Linked DNA regions of Homo sapiens: regions 1 and 2 are each linked to region 3. The links are contacts of gene promoters, found by promoter capture Hi-C in blood cells and fetal thymus (Javierre and others, 2016). All regions are on one chromosome and are shown on one strand. The core of a region is centred on a gene start or on the middle of the fragment in contact, and the rest is flanking DNA. Distances in the headings are between cores, read along the strand shown.

The links. Contacts are between HindIII fragments. The CHiCAGO score rates a contact against its expected background, and 5 or more counts as called.
Region 1: a fragment that was not itself captured here is called in contact with the fragment with the promoter of CLTA in region 3 in 1 of 17 cell types (endothelial precursors); the score reaches 5.7 in endothelial precursors.
Region 2: a contact is called between the fragment with the promoter of HRCT1 here and the fragment with the promoter of CLTA in region 3, in 1 of 17 cell types (endothelial precursors). The highest score is 5.1, in endothelial precursors.

Annotation. Positions count from the first base shown.
Region 1 is chr9:35,921,007-35,923,706 of GRCh38, forward strand. No RefSeq gene overlaps it. Among named protein-coding and RNA genes, the nearest start is that of SPAAR, 13 kb to the left of the region's middle. RefSeq lists an enhancer at 2,265-2,700. The HindIII fragment of the contact is 1,017 bases long and covers 769-1,785 here.
Region 2 is chr9:35,904,757-35,907,456 of GRCh38, forward strand. It overlaps HRCT1 (histidine rich carboxyl terminus 1), which reads left to right and starts at 1,446. Exons shown (of 1, transcript NM_001039792.2): 1 at 1,446-2,380. The coding sequence starts at 1,532. The coding sequence ends at 1,879. LOC124902149 (a long non-coding RNA gene) reads right to left here and starts at 914. Exons shown (of 3, transcript XR_007061471.1): 1 at 1-914. RefSeq lists an enhancer at 112-993. The HindIII fragment of the contact is 1,640 bases long and covers 740-2,379 here.
Region 3 is chr9:36,189,505-36,192,204 of GRCh38, forward strand. CLTA (clathrin light chain A) reads left to right here and starts at 1,417. Exons shown (of 5, transcript NM_001833.4): 1 at 1,417-1,769. The coding sequence starts at 1,553. RefSeq lists enhancers at 1,052-1,677, 1,393-1,612. The HindIII fragment of the contact is 1,815 bases long and covers 311-2,125 here.

The DNA of each region.
Region 1 (2,700 bases), core at 27-2,526, 270 kb before region 3:
TTCCAAATTCCCCGCGAATACTTCTGTTCAGTATTCAGGAATGAGAAATTGAAATTTCTGGGAATTCATGAGCATTCCTGAAATTATACATTAAATTTTTTTTTTTTTGGAGACAGGATCTTACTCTGTCACCCAGGCTGGAGTACAGTGGTACGATCATAGCTCACTGCAGCCTCGAACTCCTGAGCTCAAGTGACCCTCCTTCCTCAGCCTCCCGAGTAGCTGAGACTATAGGTACATGCCTATAGAGTGTGCCCCTAACATCTTCATGTTAGCCATTAGGGTGCTCCTGGCTATTTTGTTTTCTTCTTTTCTAGAGACAGAGTCTTACTATGTGACCAGGCTGGTTTTGAACTCCTGGCCTCAAGCTATCTTCCTGCTTCAGCCTTTCAAAGTGTTGGGATGACAGGTGTGAGTCACTGCGCCTGGCTCATATTTTCTATAACATTATATTCACATACTTTTAAATAATAATGAATGACCAGAATAATAAACAGTTAATAATTGTCAGTGACAAATTGATGCTAAAAGTTCCAGACTTTTTCCTTAAGGTTTATTATTATTATGAACCAATATGTTGTGACAAGATTATTTCAATAACATAAAAATTATCTCCACCTGATATAGGCACTGGATATAGAAAACATTAAAAAGGAGGGAACATTATTGCAAAATAAATGCCAGATAAAAATCACTTAAAAATGGAAAAATAATAGCACAAACATTTAATTTTAAAAGTTATTTTTAAAATGAACTTTTAAAACACAAAGCTTTAATTGCTCTATCTGATAGTTTTGATCTTTGTTTTGTGACAAATATTCTAGATGTAGGAAACTTTTTTGTTTTTTCATTTTTCATTGATGTTGGTTGAGTGTGCCCCTAACATCTTCAGGTTAGCCATTAGGGTACATGTTGTTTTATAGAAGCTCATTTCCTTTTTAAATGATGCTTTATTTTTATTTTTACTTTTTGGTCTGCTTACTCTGGTCTTGATTTTGCCATTGAGATCAATATTGCTCTTGCTAATTCAGATTTTAGAGCAATTTCTGATTTCCTTCTGGAGTGTTCTATAACAGCAATCACGTCTTCTTTTTGCATCTCTTCTGTTAAAGTATTTACAAAGAACTGTAGCCTATAATGAATATTCAACACGTGGAAATGCCAGCAATCATTACTGGGAAGTGTTCAAATAACTAACATTCAGACTCACTAACAAGGTTCATAGAATCACTTGTTGGAATTGCCAGTTTCAAGACTTATTTTGCTTTCAAAATTTGTTATTTTTTTCCGACACTGCTCATAGGACTTGTATAAGTATCCTATGTGTACAAACTTACCAATATTTGTTTTATTTGCAAAAATGACTTACCATTAGAAGCAGACCAGGTCACAAACACACACTTATAACCAGTGTGTGCTGGTAAACTGACTCTCCTGGAGAAAAAAAAAAAAACCCTTATATGTAGGGTTTGCCAAATTCTGAGGGGAGGCATAAATGTTCCCACAATGGTCAATGCCCAGCTACCGAGGGGATGTCACTGAGAGCTGGGAAGAGCAGCATACAACTGGCTCTTCTTGAGCCAGCGCTAGCCCACCACCACCTCTACCCTGGCAACAGCAGTCGGAAGACTGATTAGATGATGGCCTTTTCTCTCCTCTACTCCCCAGTTCCATTCAGAACTTAACTTTCCTATGGGTGCCTCAGTATTTTCTACTCTCGCTTTTGATTTGGTGTCAGTGGATTCCTTTGAACTAGTCACATCTAGTTCAACATGTTGATTGCTAAGCTTTAATTCTCACACAAAAACACTCTTACCAGGTTCCTAGATGTCTTAACTTCTTTTTCTCAGGAATTGGCATTTGGAAAAACAGTATTTCCGAGAAATGCTGGGAAGGAATTCCTGCATAAAAACACAAATCTGGCCGGGCACGGTGGCTCGTGCCTGTATTCCCAGCACTTTGGGAGGCTGAGGCAGGTGGATCATGAGGTCAAGAGATCAAGACCATCCTGGCCAGCATGGTGAAACCCCATCTGTACTAAAAATATAAAAATTAGCTGGGCGTGGTGGTGCGCGCCTGTAGTCCCAGCTACTCGGGAGGCTGAGGCAGGAGAATCACTTGAACCCGGGAGATGGAGGTTGCAGTGAGCCGAGATTGTGCCACTGCACTCCAGCCTGGGCAACAGAGGGAGACTCCATCTCAAACAAAGCAAAACAAAACACAACACAAATCCAGGAAACCCAAGTAAAACCTATTTGCTTGACTGATCGTGATCCTACTGGATACATTCTCCTGGGTCCCAATTTTGGCCACCGCTCATTTTCATTGATCTCATTTTAAGGGGTTTGAGGTATGGAGTCCTTAGGATTTGGTGTTAAGTTTGGTGATTTTTCAGAGAGGCCGCACCAGAGCTGCATCGGTGATCATTTGACTTTATGTCTGACCCTGTGCACAGGGGTCTACTTGTCTCCTAACCTCAGTTTTCCTCTTTTTCCTTATTAGAAAAACAACAATAACATCAACACAGTCCCTCTTGGAACTAGGAATGGCCAGTAGAAGTGGTGTGTGACTTCTGGGAAATGTCCTTAAATAGAGGCGGAATACTCTTCTTTGTTTTTTCTCCTTTATCTGGCCAGAATGTAGATATAATGGCTGGAGCTACAGAAGTCAGATTGGACCAGAGTGGCCTTGGGAGTAGAA
Region 2 (2,700 bases), core at 196-2,695, 280 kb before region 3:
TTCATTAGACCTGCTGCCCCCTGAGCCCAGTTTGGTTGAAGGGAATGTTTAGCCTTTTCATCTGGTGAGGGTTTTCATTAAGGGTTTGAGGCCTCCCTAAGAGAACTCACCTCAGACTGAGGTCAGAGGGGGAAGGGTCCCTGGAGGTCACCTCTTGCTCCGGGAGTTCTGCAGAGGAGACAGGCTGGATCAGGGCAAGGGGTTTGCCCAACATCACAGGGTGGAGGTGCTGCCAGAACTCAGAGAACCAGCCTTGCGGTGTCTGCAGACATTCCTCCAGGCGGTAGGGAGATGAGCCTGGAGGGAGGGGCTGGGGACTCAGCCTGGAGGGACCCTGCAGAGCCAGACACAGAGCTGGGGCTTTGGGGAGCCCCACTGCATGTGAGGAAGAGCTTGGAGAACAGCCCAGCATGCCCACAGCAGAAAGGGTTGCCCAGAGAGAGAGTGAGCACCTGTTGCTGAGGTCTGTCAGCAGGATGGGACGGTGCCTCCCAGGAGGAACAGAGGGGATTTGGGCCTGGCGGGTGGGCTTGGAGGGACAGTCAGTACTGCTCAGATCCTGCCGCTCTGTAAATGCTCCACTAGGCAGGAATGGCACTCATCACTGCTGGGCAGGGAGGGTGTGACAGAGCAAGGAGCATGCCATTTATGGCCAGTTGAGACTGTTGAACTGGGAACCAGGAGGCTGGGCTGTGCCTGCCCTCTCTGAGCTCAGTGGCCTCCTTCTTGCCTCCCAGCAAGCTTGGGAGGACACCCAGACCCTCCTGCCTCCCAGAACAGGCCGGATGGAGGACCTCCCTGGATGGCAAAATCTGCCTGTGGTGCCTCCCTGAGCTTCTCAAGCTCATTGAGCTCGGGATGGCTCATCTGACAGAGCCTGACTCAGCCCCGGAGGGCTCTGCAGGCTGCAGGACAGGGAATCACAGACTCTCAGATGTCAGTGTCTCCTGAGCCATGGAGTCCATTGCAGTAATATCAGTTGCAAACATGACGGGAGCTGGTGTTGCTGCTTTACGCATCTCAACTCCTTTAGTCCTCGGAACACCCTACTGAGGAAGGAACCGTTATCAGCCATTTTACAGAAGAGGAAACAGGACAGAGAGGTTAAGTAACTTGTGCACAATCTCAGAGCAAGTGAGTGGCGTGGCTCCAAAGCCCGTGTTGTTCATCTCTGTTCTACACAGTCTCTACGAGAGGAGACTGAAGTGCGGAGAGGGAAGGTCACTGAGCCAGGCAGCAGGAGGGTTTCTTTCCTCTAGACTCAGGGCTCCTCCCTCAACCAGATCCAGCCTGACAGCTCCTCTGTCTCCACCTGGCCTCCCTGCCAGGCCTCCTCAGAGTTAACAGCGGCCTGGCCTCACCCTTGGCCAGCAGTTGCAAGTCCAAACAGGCTTCGCCCACATTCCCTGGCTGCTCTCCAGCCCGCAGCAGAGACAACAAAGTTCAGTGACTGAGAGGGCTGAGCGGAGGCTGCTGAAGGGGAGAAAGGAGTGAGGAGCTGCTGGGCAGAGAGGGACTGTCCGGCTCCCAGATGCTGGGCCTCCTGGGGAGCACAGCCCTCGTGGGATGGATCACAGGTGCTGCTGTGGCGGTCCTGCTGCTGCTGCTGCTGCTGGCCACCTGCCTTTTCCACGGACGGCAGGACTGTGACGTGGAGAGGAACCGTACAGCTGCAGGGGGAAACCGAGTCCGCCGGGCCCAGCCTTGGCCCTTCCGGCGGCGGGGCCACCTGGGAATCTTTCACCATCACCGTCATCCTGGCCACGTATCTCATGTGCCGAATGTGGGCCTCCACCACCACCACCACCCCCGCCACACCCCTCACCACCTCCACCACCACCACCACCCCCACCGCCACCATCCCCGCCACGCTCGCTGAGGCTGCTGTCGCCGGTGCCTGTGGACAGCAGCTGCCCCTGCCCTCCCATCTGTTCCCAGGACAAGTGGACCCCATGTTTCCATGTGGAAGGATGCATCTCTGGGGTGAACGAGGGGAACAATAGACTGGGGCTTGCTCCAGCTGCATTTGCATGGCATGCCCCAGTGTACTATGGCAGCAGAGAATGGAGGAACACTGGGTCTGCAGTGCTGAAGGGTTTGGGGAGTGGAGAGCAAGGGTGCTCTTTCGGGGCTGGACAGCCCGTCTTGTGACAGTGACTCCCAGTGAGCCCCAGAAATGACAAGCGTGTCTTGGCAGAGCCAGCACACAAGTGGATGTGAAGTGCCCGTCTTGACCTCCTCATCAGGCTGCTGCAGGCCTCTGGCGGGCAGGGCACTGGGAGAGGCCCTGAGAATGTCCTTTTGGTTTGGAGAAGGCAGTGTGAGGCTGCACAGTCAATTCATCGGTGCCTTAGTCCAAGAAAATAAAAACCACTAAGAAGCTTTTGTGAAGAGGCTCTTGATTGCAGCATAGTGGGAGGGAGGGAGCTGCCTGGCCTGTGTCCTCATTGCCCTGGGACCTCCCTCTCTGATGGGAAGCGTGTGGCTGGAGCAGGCGGCTTCTGTCTGGTTCTTAGGGGCTGGTTGTGGAGTGGGAAGAATTGGGTGGGCTCTGTCTGAGCTCTGAGGGAGGATTCAGGGTTTGCACAAAACCCTGCCCACAGCAGGTCCTGTGTGCACCAGCAGGGCTCTGGCCTTCCGCGGGACAGTCCTCGGGGAGAGGAAGGTTGGAGCCGCTGCGAGCCTGGCTCCCCAGGGCTC
Region 3 (2,700 bases), core at 167-2,666:
CAAGGCTAATGTGAAAATACTTCATGCACTGTTGCCAATGTATGTTAGGGATGAGCATAAAACAACAGACAAGGGGAAACAGAATCAATTGCAGACCCTAACATTTTAACTTTCTTAAATGTTTTTCTTCAACACTTTCCTATGGTTCATACTTTAAATGACTTTAAAATTATGCTTTAAGTAAATATATGCTTTAAATAATTTTTATTTGCTTCATTTTTCCTTCATAGCTATCCCTTTTTTTTTGTCATCAAAGATATGTGCGTTTTTTATAAAAACACTTTCTTGTCCCCTGCTGACTACCTCTGGAAGCTTCTTGTTGACCTCTGGTTTTTTGGTTTCTTTTTTTGGCTTTTCATTTCTTAGGGTGGTGGTGGTGGTAGTGAAGGAGAGGGGTCTTCTGGTGGCCCCTGCATAAGCACTCCCCCTCAACATGAGCATGATTAACTGGAACCACTGTTATTTCTGTGGTGTAGACAAAATGAGCCATGTAGCTATTAACATCTCCCTGATTTAAAAAGAAACACGGAACTTTCTTTTTCCTGCTGTCCTTAGGGAGGAAAGGTGTAAATATAAGAGACTGTAGCTAGTATCTTGGAAGTCCCCAGGAGACAGGCGTTTCCTCTTGGTCACTGACTCTCTGGGTCACTGACGCTCCTTGAACAGCAGGGCCACCGTGTCTCCCTTTGAAGCAAGTGATCCTTAAGGAATTTTCCAGGTTTAGTAACTTCTGTCTAGCTCCGAAAAGACGTAATGGCTGCAAAAGTGCTTCGTTGAAGAAGATAAGATATATTCATTTTTAAATAAAAATACTTATGGGCGAGAAAAATCGGAGTGGACTGAATCAATTACAGTAAATCTATGGGCTCTAAGGGAGCAAATAATCCAGGCTGGCTGAAAGAATTAAATATTTTAAATTTATAAAGCCAGGGACCCTCAAATCCATAAAAGGATTCAATCTTCTTCTTCTTTTTTTTTAGGATTCAATCTTCTAATAATCCCGGGAGGGGGCGCAAGAGCAGGATTCTTGTTTCTATTTTACGAATGAGGAAACTGAGGTTCAGAAAGCCTAAGTGGCATGCCTCTTCAGTAATCGGCCAATCGTCGCTGCCCTAACTTCACCTCACCTCCCAGTGCAGCACTAGAGTCCCCTCAGGGGTGGCCGTCCCTGGTCAGTCCAGCTCCAGCAGACGGGGTGGGTAGGACGCTCCCTATCAGGCAGCACTTCCGCCTCCCGGGGCCCGCGCAGCTCACCTCCCTCACCTCCCGCCCTACCCCAGTCACGAGTTGTTTTAGGGGGACCGCCCCTCCACTTGCTGATTGGGTAGCTCCTGAACCATTGTTGTCCTCTGATTGGTTGTTCCCTTTTCGGCTCTGCAACACCGCCTAGACCGACCGGATACACGGGTAGGGCTTCCGCTTTACCCGTCTCCCTCCTGGCGCTTGTCCTCCTCTCCCAGTCGGCACCACAGCGGTGGCTGCCGGGCGTGGTGTCGGTGGGTCGGTTGGTTTTTGTCTCACCGTTGGTGTCCGTGCCGTTCAGTTGCCCGCCATGGCTGAGCTGGATCCGTTCGGCGCCCCTGCCGGCGCCCCTGGCGGTCCCGCGCTGGGGAACGGAGTGGCCGGCGCCGGCGAAGAAGACCCGGCTGCGGCCTTCTTGGCGCAGCAAGAGAGCGAGATTGCGGGCATCGAGAACGACGAGGCCTTCGCCATCCTGGACGGCGGCGCCCCCGGGCCCCAGCCGCACGGCGAGCCGCCGGGGGGTCCGGGTGAGAGTGCGGGCGCGTTTGGGGCGAGAGGACTTGTCTGGAAACTCGGTCCACAGTGGGTCCGAGAGCTTCTGTGTGACTCGTGCTCCTTGCTGAATTAGGAGGTTAGGGAGCAGTGCAAACAGGAAACGAGACCCTGGCCCGGTCTTTCAGAAACCTAGGCTCGAGAAGCCTGTTCGGTTCTCAGCATGTTTGAGTGCTTCTGGGCGCGGGCGGAGCGAGAAAGCAAGTGTAGGGTGGCAGGCTCCGGAGCCGGAAGAAGCCCGTTCAATTCAGCAACTTTTCATTAAGCATTTGCTGTGCCTTTAGTCCGGTCTCTGAAGCAACCGCATTGGCGCAGTTTTTCCAGACTTATAAGCTTATAAGTCTGAGCCGAGCACAGAACTCGTTATTAGAAAAGGAGGGCGGAAAAAAATAAGAATGGAAATATCGTTTTTGAGAGATACAAACAAAAGTAGCAATGCAGTTCAGCATTTAAGCACTTAAGGTGTACAGAGTGTTGGATTACGAGGAGGAAGGAGGGAGTAGGGAACTCGAAAGATGATCTAGGTCTGGAGAAAGAACTGCCAAGCGCGGTAGGAGTTTGCTATCGTTGAGCGATTGATTTACAGCTAGGACTTCTGGAGCTCTTCCTCTGGGAACAGCTTTGGTAGGCAATATTGCCTAAGCAGAACCCAAGATTAGCCTAAACCAATCAGGGAGGGATGAAGAGGTGAATAGAGAATGTTCTCAGCCAAACTCAAGTAAAAATGGGGCAGGTAGGATGGCAGTTTGACCTTTGGATGCCTTAACCTGTGTGTGATGCTTAGGATCATGAGTGGAAAAGACCTACTTAATAATACAAAGAAGTAGGAAATTTAGCTAGAAGAAATGAAATACGGCTTTTCATTCACTTAAAAAATTCCAACTAAGGGAGAATAGGGCACTACTG